Regions from separate parts of the Homo sapiens genome. Here all the other regions are linked to region 4. Evidence: promoter capture Hi-C in 16 types of primary human blood cells and fetal thymus (Javierre and others, 2016). All regions are on one chromosome and are shown on one strand. The core of a region is centred on a gene start or on the middle of the fragment in contact, and the rest is flanking DNA. Distances in the headings are between cores, read along the strand shown.

The links. Contacts are between HindIII fragments. The CHiCAGO score rates a contact against its expected background, and 5 or more counts as called.
Region 1: a fragment that was not itself captured here is called in contact with the fragment with the promoter of RPL34 in region 4 in 1 of 17 cell types (total B cells); the score reaches 6.4 in total B cells.
Region 2: the fragment with the promoter of AP1AR here is called in contact with the fragment with the promoter of RPL34 in region 4 in 1 of 17 cell types (neutrophils); the score reaches 5.9 in neutrophils.
Region 3: a fragment that was not itself captured here is called in contact with the fragment with the promoter of RPL34 in region 4 in 2 of 17 cell types (neutrophils and total B cells); the score reaches 7.8 in neutrophils.

The regions. Positions count from the first base shown.
Region 1 is chr4:105,471,467-105,474,438 of GRCh38, forward strand. It overlaps PPA2 (inorganic pyrophosphatase 2), which reads right to left and starts at 2,596. Exons shown (of 12, transcript NM_176869.3): 1 at 2,428-2,596. The coding sequence starts at 2,584. RefSeq lists enhancers at 1,777-1,946, 2,237-2,356 and a silencer at 2,577-2,786. The HindIII fragment of the contact is 1,188 bases long and covers 693-1,880 here.
Region 2 is chr4:112,230,121-112,233,224 of GRCh38, forward strand. AP1AR (adaptor related protein complex 1 associated regulatory protein) reads left to right here and starts at 1,667. Exons shown (of 10, transcript NM_018569.6): 1 at 1,667-2,054. The coding sequence starts at 1,972. It overlaps AP1AR-DT (AP1AR divergent transcript), which reads right to left and starts at 2,030. Exons shown (of 1, transcript NR_186684.1): 1 at 1-2,030. RefSeq lists enhancers at 1,440-2,387, 2,412-2,461 and silencers at 1,492-1,771, 1,932-2,201. The HindIII fragment of the contact is 11,290 bases long and covers 1-3,104 here.
Region 3 is chr4:112,642,321-112,645,430 of GRCh38, forward strand. It overlaps LARP7 (La ribonucleoprotein 7, transcriptional regulator), which reads left to right. Exons shown (of 13, transcript NM_016648.4): 2 at 2,348-2,551. The coding sequence starts at 2,350. Among named protein-coding and RNA genes, the nearest start is that of MIR367, 4.1 kb to the right of the region's middle. RefSeq lists a silencer at 1,385-1,486. The HindIII fragment of the contact is 2,597 bases long and covers 477-3,073 here.
Region 4 is chr4:108,619,186-108,622,268 of GRCh38, forward strand. It overlaps RPL34 (ribosomal protein L34), which reads left to right and starts at 1,391. Exons shown (of 5, transcript NM_001319236.2): 1 at 1,391-1,415; 2 at 2,766-2,839; 3 at 2,920-3,019. The coding sequence starts at 2,775. It overlaps RPL34-DT (RPL34 divergent transcript), which reads right to left and starts at 1,272. Exons shown (of 4, transcript NR_026968.1): 1 at 1,123-1,272. RefSeq lists enhancers at 929-2,128, 1,354-1,403. The HindIII fragment of the contact is 3,742 bases long and covers 921-3,083 here.

The sequences.
Region 1 (2,972 bases), core at 37-2,536, 3.1 Mb before region 4:
CACTAGTATTTCAGAGACTTGGAATATATTTGGAGATGTGGAAAATGATTACACTTTAGTAACACTGAGTAACAATTTTAGGCCAAGTATACTACACTCATATTTTTTTTGAAGTGAGACATTAGTCCACCCTAGTACTGCATACAGACACACTGAGTAATAAATATCCAATCTGTGATCATCTTTATAAAGGGCAATTTATTCGTTGCTTTCCCCTTACCCCATTCGCCCTAGAGTGGCTTCGTTTCACTTTGCCCTACCCCTTCTAGCAGGTAGTAAACAGTCCTGGCCAGTGATGCCATCTGGCGGTTAGTTCAGAAATTGTTTAACCAACACACCTTCCAATCAGGATCTTACCATCGGGACCCTCTCCAAAACCACACTCCCCTTTCTTCCAGTTTTTGCCCATTTACCTTAGTAAAATCGGGTTTTCTTCTTTCCTGCCCTGTTTATCCAACTGAATGAAAAACGTATTTTATTTGTGGCACTCTAGTTACAGAAAAATCATGAGTCCTAAGTACATTTGCAGCTAAAGAAACAAACCAACAATAAGAGGCCAACATACTCCCAAAAATGCCCCCATTCGACATCCTGTCTTAACAGAGACTGTTAGAATCTCCGTTATTCATCCAATGCCTTCAGGGAATACCAGTGCTGAGAAGGACCTTGAGGATCATCGTTTCAAGGTCAAAAGCTTCATTTTACAGCTGAAGAAACTGGCTCTGTGAGAAAGAACTGAAGTAACCACCCACCCAACAGCACACAGCGAGTTAACGGCAGAGCCAAGATTATGGCCTAGGACTCCCCATTCCAAATCCGGTACTGGGTCAACTACTCTGTGCGCTCCTGGCTTCTCAAGCCTGTTTTTGCTCAACCAGTGTATTTACTTTTTCCATAATTATAGTAATATTGTGAATCTCTGTACTATGCCTAACAGTGTCTAGCACACTTCATAAATATTTATTATTTGGGTATCTATTAATTACCGTACTTATTGCAAATCTAGAATACTTGCAGTAGACAGGCCTTTTTTCAATCTGCTTAAAAAGCGAACTGCCACTTCATAATTTTTTCTGACTATTCCCATTAATCATCACATGGTAACCTTTTAGAACATAATCCATTCAGAAATTTGAGACTTCCTGTTCACCTGATCAGTCTTAACCAAAGATAGAAGAAAATATGTGGCATAGGGTGAAAACTGCAACCAATTTTGAAGAAAATAGAAATTCTAGTACTAGTTGCATTATAATCACACGACTTTAGGCAAACTCTTCTTTCCCACAAAATAATCCTCGACCCTAAACTCATGTAGCATAACTGCAAATCTCTCATAAATTACAAATATCTATAATGATTATCGGTATTAACAATAGTAATTTATATTTTAGGCCCTGTGACTAATCAGTTTACATATATAATGTCATGTAATACTTGCAGCCCTATTTTACGGATGAGAAAAAACAAGGCTTAGCAACTTAAACTCGTCCGGGGTCACAGAGTTAAGACGTGAAGAACTCGAGGGCCTGCTTAGAACTGAAAGCCTCCAGAGCCAGTGCTCCGAAAAGGGGAGCGATAATGCAAGGCCCACTTTGATACTACCACTCCAAGGCTCTGCAGTCAGTGGGGAGTGAAGGCAAGCGACCGACATCGCTATTTTCTGTTACGGTTAACGTACACAGTGAAACAATGGGGTACACGGAACAATGAGTCACGAAGACCTGGGTCCTTTCTCTGAGCTCGGCAACTCAGGGACCCCCCCGAAGTCGCTTAGCCTTCTGGGCTTGTTCAGCTTGGGGAGGAAAAGGGGCTGCTCCGGAACCAACGAGGCTTTGGATGGTGGATCACACTCAGGGTGTAAACTTGTGCGTACCAAGTCAAGCTTCTGGGGAAAGAACCTTCATCAGAGTCCCTCCAAAAAAAGAAGACGCGCTGGATTAGGCATCCGCAAAGTTCCGCCTGCCTCTCCGACGTCAGGGAGCTCCCGCAGTAGGAGGTTTCTTACGCCTCTAGGAAGGCCGGCGTGTGGGCGGGCTCTGCCTTCCCTTCCTCACTGAGTTGTGTGAACCGGGAACGGCGGCCGGGCCGGCTAATGGCTGCAGGCCGCCGCGGGGTGGCCGCTTGCACTCTGCCTACCCCTCGGGGAGGGCGGCTGGCAGGGCACAGGGCGCTATCTACCCCCCAGCCGGCAGCCCTGCGCCTCTGCTCTCCGCTTTGGGGTCTTGATCCGCCGCCTCCTCGCTGGCAGTTCTCGTGACTCGGTGCGCGCTCCCGCGGGAAGTAAGGTGGCCTGGACCGCGCGGCTACCGCTGAGGGCCCCAAAAAGAGAGAAGGGAGACCGCGCGGGGCGTCCCAAGTGTCCCCCATTCCATCCCCCACCCAGGTTTCTCCGGTGCGCCGCTCGGCGAACCTCCGGGAGCTACTTACTAAAGAAGAGGCGGTAATTCTGCGAGCAGGGCTGGCCGCGCTCCTCAGTGTGGTACAGGGCCATAGCACGGCGCGACCCGGTCCCTGCACTGGTCCCCAACCGCAGGCACGCAGCGGCTGGGGCACCCGTGCGCAGCAGCCGCAGCAGCGCGCTCATGGCGTCAATGACGGTCCTGCTGTGCGCGCGGAGCTACCTGGGGGCTCGGCCGGGCCGCACGCCGGTGCCCCCTACCGTCCGGAGTCATCCCTCCCGCCCCGGCGCTCGGGCTGCGATCCTGGTCCCTGCCAGTGGAATCTGGAACACCAGCCAGTTGTGCGCACTATGCCCTCAGCGAGGCCGCAGCTCAAAGACGAGTGAGACAAGACCCACCACCCCTGAAGAGCTCACTGCCACTCGTTAATTCATACATTTATTCATGCCTTCATTTATCCCGTCAAGAATTACTATCATGATTTTTTAGTATAGTGATGTAATATTGAGTGATTACTCTGTGCCAGGAACTGCTCTAGACCCTGTCCAATATAGGAGATGAGCGCACATGCAC
Region 2 (3,104 bases), core at 417-2,916, 3.6 Mb after region 4:
GTCTATAGGAAGTGCTGTCAAGTCTATAGCTGCATTTTTTTAATCAAACTTTTTATATTGAGACAATTGTGTCACATGCAGTTTTAAGAAATAATATACAGATGACCGTGTATATCTTTAATCTAGTTTCCCCCAGTGGTGACATGTTACAAAACTATTGCAATATCACAACCAGAATACTGACATTAATATAGACAAGATGCAGGATTTCCATTCCCTGACCCATGGCAATCAATTATTCTGTTGTCCACTTACATAAATTTATCAATTCTGAGATGTTACATAATGGAATTACACAGTATATAAGCATTTGAGATTGGCTTTTTCTTTAACCATAATTTCCTACAGATTCATTTCAGGGTGTGTTCATCAATACTGTGTTCCTATTTGTTACTAAATATTCCATAGGATAGATGTACCAGTTTCTGTAAACATTTATAGTTGAATTTTAATGATTATTTCATTAATACATTTGTCTAATTTCAGGGGTTGGAAGGAGAAAAGAAAATGCTTTCACTAGGAAGTCATTCGGTCATCCCAACATTCACTGAAAGCAAACCATTGGGACAAATGTTATCCTATGCTTCTGATTACAAAACAACTAAAACCCAAATAAAATAAACATTAGTAAGTAGCAGTGCTAAGATTGAAACCAGATACGTATTTAAAGAAGCAAGAAAATGAGTTCAGAGAACATTTTATCATCAATAAAAACTTTCTAAAATGTAACAATTTTTCTAGGTTTAATTAAACAGGCTAAAAACTTGATGTGTCCAGTCCATGAGAGCATCCTCCTATCCACTGGACGAGGTGTCTACTAAACCACATCTTATATCTATTGTGAGGCCAACTGTCTTGAGGCCAAACAAGACGCGAATTATATGGTAGCACTTGAGAGGGCTGCGGACACATTAGAGCAGCTTTCTCTTCCCATCTACAGCAGTTCTGGGCAGCATGCTTGGAATGGCAACGCTGACGTCCCCGAAAAACCCCAGCCCTCTTGCCAATTTCCTCTGAACCCCAACTACCCAACCCAAAATTATGTGAAGATCTGATTTTCAAACAAAACGAGGACAATAATGCACCATTATTACGTTTCCCTAAAACATTAACAGTATGGAAATTAAGACACAAACCAGAGACCGGAAAAAAATCTTGGTGCGTTCAAAGTAACCTCAATCAGTTCCCGAGTCTATTTTCCGCTTATGGTGCAGTATTAACAAAAACTAAGCACACCGTGCAGAGAAACGCCCCTTCGCACTTATGACTTCCGGCCTGGGACTCTGGCTCCTCACACGCCTTTGATACAAAGTTCGAAGGCTGAGCCTTAGCCATGCCACGCCCAGCGTGCTCCGGACGAGGATGCCCGAAACTGCAATGAGAGAGGGAAATTTCCTAGTCAGGTCAAGGTCCAACAAAACAAACGTCCGCACGCAGGAATTGAACCGTCTCGCAGGCAGAGGCGGCTGAACCAGGAGCGAGCGGAAGTGACGCACAGGCCGGTCGCCAGAGAAGGCGGGGCACCGAGGTAGCGCGCCCAATTGGGGCGCGGGAGAGGCCGGGGGTGTGGCAGCGTTGGCGGCGAGCAGGGGCCTGGGCGCGCTGGGGGCGGGGCCAGGGTGCTCGGCTCGCGGGGACTGGCCTCCTTCGGCAGCTGGAGGCGGTCACTCACGCTGGGCTAGGAGCTGAGGCGAGAAGGGCCATGCGGACGGCGAGGGAGTCCAGAGCCTTGAGCCCGGTGCTCCTCCCTCGCGCAGCGGTGGCTCTGCGGCCGCTGGAGTAAACACTGCCTTTGTTCCCTAGCGCCTCGTCTTTCGTCGCCCCGTGCCCTCACGCCGCCGGGCTCTGGCCGGCCCGCCCTCGGTCCTTGAACCCCATTTCGGCTCGTGCCGTGCGGATGCAGCTGCCGGGCCTGGGTTTGGGCATTGAGCGGGAGGAGGAGGAGGAGCGGCGGCGCCTGGGCGGCATGCGATGGGGAACTGCTGCTGGACGCAGTGCTTCGGACTGCTTCGCAAGGAAGCGGGGCGGCTGCAGCGAGTAGGCGGCGGCGGAGGGTAAGCCCGCTGGGGGAGGGGCCCGGCCCCCGTGGCTCCTCCTCTTCGGCCCCCGGCGGGGAATCCCTTTCACCGTCCCCCGGCGGCTGGAGGTGGCGGTCGAGAGCCCTGCTACACTCACTGCTTAGCAGACGTCAGACTGGTGGTCGTCTTGGAGGCCCAGTCTGGGGTCCGGTCTTGGGGCCTCCTCGGAAAGAGGTAGAAGAGGGGGCGGGGTGTCCCTCCTGCCAGGGCGCCCTGTCACGCGGGGAAGGAGTCACGGGAGACATCATCTCCAGGAAACAAGGGGTAGCTTCGCGCTAATGGGCTGTAGGACCGGCTCCACGGCAACCTGGACACACCCTGCGCTGAGCTTAGGTTTAACGCCAAAGCTAGTATCCCTGTATCTGACCCTCTCTTTAGCCCTGGCAGAGCAGGTGGGATCTGGCTCCGGAGTTAATGCCTCAGATTGATTTTAAGTAGAAGTCATTTGGATGCTGGAGTAAAATAAGGTTCCAGATACTGATGAACTCTGGTAGCTACAAAGACTTGCTGAATTGCAGAGTTCCCAATGGGCATTCAGATTCTTGGTGCTCATAACTACAGGGACAATGTGTAATTTTTTCGTATTAAGTTTTTGAAATTTCGAGAGGAATTCCTTGCCCTGATTGCTACTCAAACGTCCTGTAACATTAGGTAAATTGCAGTCCTTCTGAACTTCACTTCTCTTGAGTAAACCTGGGATATTGCTTAGGTTTTGTATATGCACCATCCACAGAATAGTAATTTCATAATTCCGTTTTTGTGTTTTTTTATTTCATATATATTGAAAAAATTAGAGCAAATTCCTTTGGGGTTGGCTTTGTTGTTATTAAATGTCCCTCCGGAATTCAAACCTAGAATTGAAAATCTGAACCAAGCCAGTTTGTGTAAGGACTAAGACTGTTTTGCACTTTCTGAAACAGATTGCTAATTTTTCATAATCTGTTCCATTTAACTAACATTATTGGGTAATAAGATGTTCAACATAAATAAATTGCAGTAAATGATCATAATTTGAATCTTTGGTAA
Region 3 (3,110 bases), core at 525-3,024, 4.0 Mb after region 4:
TTATGTCTTAAGCTAGCATCACCTAAATATATCATTACTTGTAAAATTTCAAAATTGGTACTTGATTGATCTACTGAAACCTAAAATGCCAAAATGTACTTCTGTTGAGTTTGATGAGAATGCATGTTTAGTTGGAGATTTGAGGTGAAATGCATTAAGGGCTTTGTACCCTCTTACTGGATATCACTTTGAAACACATTATCTATTTCTGTTACTATCAGCAGCATCACTGTAGCAGTTAGAGATTCTAACCAGCAGTCAGACTCAAGAGATGCAAATACTGCTTACCAAAGAAGAGTCAAGGCAAAAGATAGGGTAGATGCAGCTTCTTCATCCCACCAGAGGCCACCAAGCCATTTACCCATATCTAGCAATTACCCAAATTCACTACTTTTTTCTCCCATTTACCCACAACAGGCATGTATGCCTTCCCTAGATAAGGACCATGGTGTATTTAGGACACTTTGACACGTGAAAGCTTTAACCTCTTTTGCCTATCAATCTGTTGTTCTGGTCACGTAGGCATAAGGCCTCCATGCCATCTAATAGCTGCTCCAAACCAGGTGCAACATGGGAAACAGATACAACACCCCCATTAGTCTCTCCAGTTTCCAAGAAGACTGTATTATAGGAGACTGAGGTTATTCTCAAGCAGCCTGTATTATCCCAGGCCTGATATTAATCCTTTGCTCCTATACCACTAGTGATTCAATTCATTCAACAAAATCGAGGCACAATTTATTCAACACATTTTTAAGTGACTGTATGGCAGGGACTGACAATATATCAGTAAACAAACAAAAATCTCTGATTTCATTGATCTTACCATCTAGGAAGGATAAACAACAAAGAAATAAATTGCATAGTGGTGATAGTAATGTTAGAAGATGATAAATGCTATGAACAAAAATAAGGCAGGGGAGTTACTGTGTATGTATCCAGAAATTTGCATTATTAAATATGATTGTGGGAGGGGACCGCACTGAGGTGACATTTAAATAAACACTTGAAGTAGGAGAGCAAGCTGTGTTATCTCTGGGGATATGTGTTTCAAAGAGAACAGGTTTAAAAGACCCCGTTAGACATTGCTGGGTGAGCTTCAAGAAGTGCAAGGACTGTATGGCTGGAGCTGACAAAGCAAAGGGGAAGAGATACTGAAAGTAACTTGAGGAAGGAGGGGGTTAGAAATTGCTGCCCAAGAAATAAACACTGGGATGAGAAGGCCACTTGAAAAGGCTGATTTATGGCTGGGCGCGGTGGCTCACACCTATAATCCCAGCACTTTGGGAGGCTGAGGCTGGCGAATCACCTGAGGTCAGGAGTTCGAGACCAGCCTGGCCAACATGGTGAAACTCTGTCTCTACTAAAAATACAAAAATTAGCCGGGTGTGATTGGCAGTGGTGCCTGTATTCCCAGCTACTTGGGAGGCTGAGGCAGGGAGAATCGCTTGAACCCAGGAGGCAGAGCTTGCAGTAAGCTGAGATCATGCCACTGCACTCCAGCCTGGGCAACAGAGGAAGACTGCCTCAAAGAAAAGAGAAGAGAAGAAGAAAGAGAAGAGAGAAGAGGCTGATTTCTACAGCTTACCAGTTGAATTCTGCCCCTAGAAAGCAGAAATTAACATTTTAAAAATCAAAATTGCCAGGCGCGGCGGCTCATGTCTGTAATCCTAGCACTTTGGGAGGCGGAGGCGGGCAGATCACCAGGACAGCAATTCAAGACAAACCTGGCAAACATGGTGAAACCCCGTCTCCTACTACAAATACAAAAATTAGCCGGGCATGATGGCATGTGCCTGTAGTCCCAGCTACTTGGGAGACTGAGGCAGGAGAATTGCTTGAACCCGGGAGATGGAGGTTGCAGTCAGCCAAGTTCACGCCACTGCACTCCAGCCTGCACAACAAAAGGGAAACTGTCTCCAAGAAAAAAAAAAAAAGCGAATACAACTTCTCTGGGGTGGGGCGGGGGCGGGGGGGTGTTGCGATGGAGAGGAGGGGGTGTTGCGATGGAGAGTGTCCACGTCCCTTAATCTTACACTTTTCACTTACTGACTTAAAAGTGCAGCTTAGTGAGATAAAGGTGTAATTTTTTATATTATTCTAGGATAATCTGGCCCTGTGTTTTAAAAGGTACAAAGAAACTAAAGCTATGATCCCTAACATAGAAGGTAAATTATTTTTAAATTTAATTTATTAAATATAAAAATGAATGTTCTTTCTGTTTGTCTTCTGATGGCCAAATGTGAGTCCATTATTCTCTCAGACAGTTAAAGGCTAATCTAAATATTTAACTATATTAGCTATTGTGGTGATTTAAATATTTACATCTTTTTCTTGTAATTCACAGGAATGGAAACTGAAAGTGGAAATCAGGAAAAGGTAATGGAAGAAGAAAGCACTGAAAAGAAAAAAGAAGTTGAAAAAAAGAAACGGTCACGAGTTAAACAGGTGCTTGCAGATATTGCTAAGCAAGTGGACTTCTGGTTTGGGGATGCAAATCTTCACAAGGATAGATTTCTTCGAGAACAGATAGAAAAATCTAGAGATGGATGTAAGTTTGCTTCAGTAAAGGAACCAATTTTTAGATATGGTTGCCTTTAAATTTACTTATAAAATAATATATTCTTTTTTTTTTTTTTTTTTTGAGTTGGAGTCTTGCTCTGTTGCCCAGGCTGGAGTGCAGTGGCATGATCTCAGCTCATTGCAACCTCTGCCTCCTGGGTTCAAGTGATTCTCCTGCCTCAGCCTCCCGAGTAGGTGGGACTACAGGCAAGCACCACCATGCCCGGCTAATTTTTGTATTTTCAGTAGAGATGGGATTTTACTGTGTTGGCCAGGCTGGTCTCGAACTCCTGACCTTGTGATCTGCCCACCTCAGCCTCCCAAAATGCTGGGATTACAGGCGTGAGCCACTACACCCAGCCTAAAATAGTATATTCTATAATGTGTATATTCGTTTCTGTAAGTGTGTTCCGTGTAATCTGTTCTAATTTTTATTTAGTGAATGACAATCTTCTAAATAAAGACTGTTGGTAACAGTTTAGGCTATATTAAATAAGCAATTTCAAATCAAAGCTTTTAAGTATTTTGGGATTTAATTGCTTCAATAA
Region 4 (3,083 bases), core at 141-2,640:
ATTTGTCTCTCTATGCAAGCTTCCATCTCAATGCCTGGCACAGAGACGAAAAGGATTTCAGAGGACAAAAATCAAAGGACTGGAAAGGAGGGAAGTAGCTGATGACAAGGTCGGGGGAGAAGCAGCTATTTGAGAGTGAGCAGAGGGAAGGATATAACCAGAGCCTTCCATCTGGTGTTGTGACAAAGATGGCAGTGATGTGAGGCTTGATAGAATCAATAGGCCTCACAGTTCAAGACAGACTACATGCCCTCAGTCACTTGCCTGCTTTCTTGGTTTGCTAGATGGATTAGAAATACTAGAAGGAAAGTTGAGTGGGTACTGGGATATCCTATCCAAATCCTCTCTTCTGGGGCAATGCAGCTGCCTCACAGCAACCACGTTGTGGATCACCTGACCCCGCCTTTCTCAGCTTCCTGGAGGTGCATTCTAAGAGCGCTCCCCATAAGCCAACACTCAAGTCTCTTCGAGGTGTGTTTCCAGGGAGCCTGATCTAAGATTAAAAACTTAAAGGCCCCTTTTAGAATTGTCTTTTACAGCCCAGGCAAAGAGTTCTTTACTTTTTTAGAGGTCATGAATCCCTTTGACAAGGTGATGAAAGCCAGGGACCCTCTTCTCAGAAAAATACACACGTGCGCTTAATGTAAAATTTTACATACTGTTTTAAAGGTTAAACTTTACCACCCATGAAAAGCCTCAAGTAGTTCTTTGTACATAATCATAAGATTAGCAACCATTTACTGAGCACTTCCTCTCTATAAGACCCTGTGCTAAGTGCTTTAACTTCATAATGCCTTTGATCATGACATAACATGGCACGGTAGTTCCTAATATCTTCCTTTTAGAGATTTAAGGGCTTGCTCAAAGTAACATAGCTAATAATTAGCAGACACTGGATTAAAATCCCAATTTGTTTGTAAAGCTTGTGCTCTGAATAAATGACAAGGAAAGAGAAGGGAAGGTTGAAGAAGGGAAGGTTCTTGAAGGTCCCTGGTCCTTGAAGGTCCCTTAACCATAAATGTCAAGAGTTGGGATTTAAACCCAGGTCTAACGCCAGAGCTGGCGCCCTTTAGATTAAAAGTGCAGTGTCCATGACAACGAAAGAAGTTGATTTTGTCCCACCTTTGCTCTTTGCGGCTTTTCATTTGCGTTTGTTTCCACAGCGATTTCCAATAGATTTCTGCGTGGCCTTGACACAGACAGCTAGTGTGAATCCCCGCCCACAGAGGGGCGGCACGTTGGTTGCCGTACAACGTGGTGGTTCCCTGCATCTCTGCCCACGTCGGAGAGGTGCGTCGGCTTCCGTACAACACGGATACTCTCTCTCTGACGCAACTTCCTGTCCTGCGCAATTCTATTTGACCTTTGAACTGGCAAAGGCTTTTTTCTTCCTCTTCCGGGGACGTTGTCTGCAGGTATGGATGTTGTTCTCTTTTCCCTGTCTTTATTTCCTTACCAATCGGCTGCCATCCGAGGAGCTGAGGAAGCCTAGAGCTCTCAGAAGCAGTCCTTTGAGCTGGTGTAGGGGTAAGGGGCACAACAGGGAGGTTGGTGGTGAGGAAGTTCCTTACTTTGATCTTTGGAAATCCCTTGTTCCTGGTGGCACCTCCAAAGCCGTGAGTAGCCACAGCTCACCACCCGGGACTTTGCTGCATTCCAAGTGTAGCGTTTGGAGACTAACGAGTTGTGGTTTGGCGGTTTGAGTCTGGAAAATCGCCAAACGTTTTCATATTTTACACCCACGTTTTCACAGCACGCCTGTACGTGTCCTTAGTCTTTGGGAGGGCAGGGTCCGGCGAGTTCGGGTGGTTTCGCTATTTGGCTTCTGCGTCCAAGGCCCATGTCAAGGAAGAGAAAAATGTGTTAGAAGTTTCTGTCTTGCTTTTGGAGATGCAAACAGAATAATGGCTTCATAAATCACTCGCACTGGTTTTACGTGTCAAGTTTTGGTGTCTGGTAATTCTGTTTTAGTTTAATTTTAGTGAGAGGCTTGTGACAACAAATGAGGTGGTTACAAGGGGTGGAATGGGAAGATTAAATTAGTTCAAGTATTGATTATGTTTTACGTTGGGTAGTTCCCTTAACGAAGTTGCTCGTATGCATATCTGTATAACCGATTTGCTAAATAACATCACGATGTTTCCAGAAGTGGGAAGAAAGCAGGTGCCATAACCCAAAGAAACTTGTGTAATATCAAAATTAGTATTAAAGGGTATGCCTTTACGCAGGTGGTGCTTTAGGGCAAGACATTGAACCCTGATATGTGCCAGGCATTGTGTTGGGACGGATAGCCCACGTCGTTTAATCCTAATGACAGCTGTATAAAGTAGACAGAATTCCCATGTTAGAGATAAGGAGGCTAGCTCCTTGCCCTTTATATTCCCAGTAAATGGCATAGCTAAGGATTCGACTTCAGAGCTCACTTTTTGTGCTCTTTGTTTAAAGCGGTGTTTCTCCAACTGGGCTCGTGGCACTTTTCTGGACACCACTCCAAACAAAATTAGACTCTGAGTAAGGAGCCTGGTCATCAGAACGTTAAGGAAGTGCCACGTTTGATTACCATCAGGAAAGCTAACATTCTTGGCCTCTTGTTTATCAGTCACCTTTAAATACAAGTAGTTTTAAAATGTGGAATAATACATCTTAATTTAAGGGTGTTACATACAAGGATATGTATGTGAATGAAATAGACCACATGATACTGTTTTGAGATTTTATTTACTTTTACAATGGAAAGATTTGATGTTACTCTATTCTTAATTTAGGCACTCAGAATGGTCCAGCGTTTGACATACCGACGTAGGCTTTCCTACAATACAGCCTCTAACAAAACTAGGCTGTAAGTATTTCTGAAAATTTTAAGTATATATTGTCATTTACTCTACAAAATGCTGACCTACTGACTGTTTCACTTTCTAGGTCCCGAACCCCTGGTAATAGAATTGTTTACCTTTATACCAAGAAGGTTGGGAAAGCACCAAAATCTGCATGTGGTGTGTGCCCAGGCAGACTTCGAGGGGTAAGTGTACCTTTTACTGTGTGCAGCCTAACAAGTCTTGAACTTACTGAGCTTTCATCCCTTG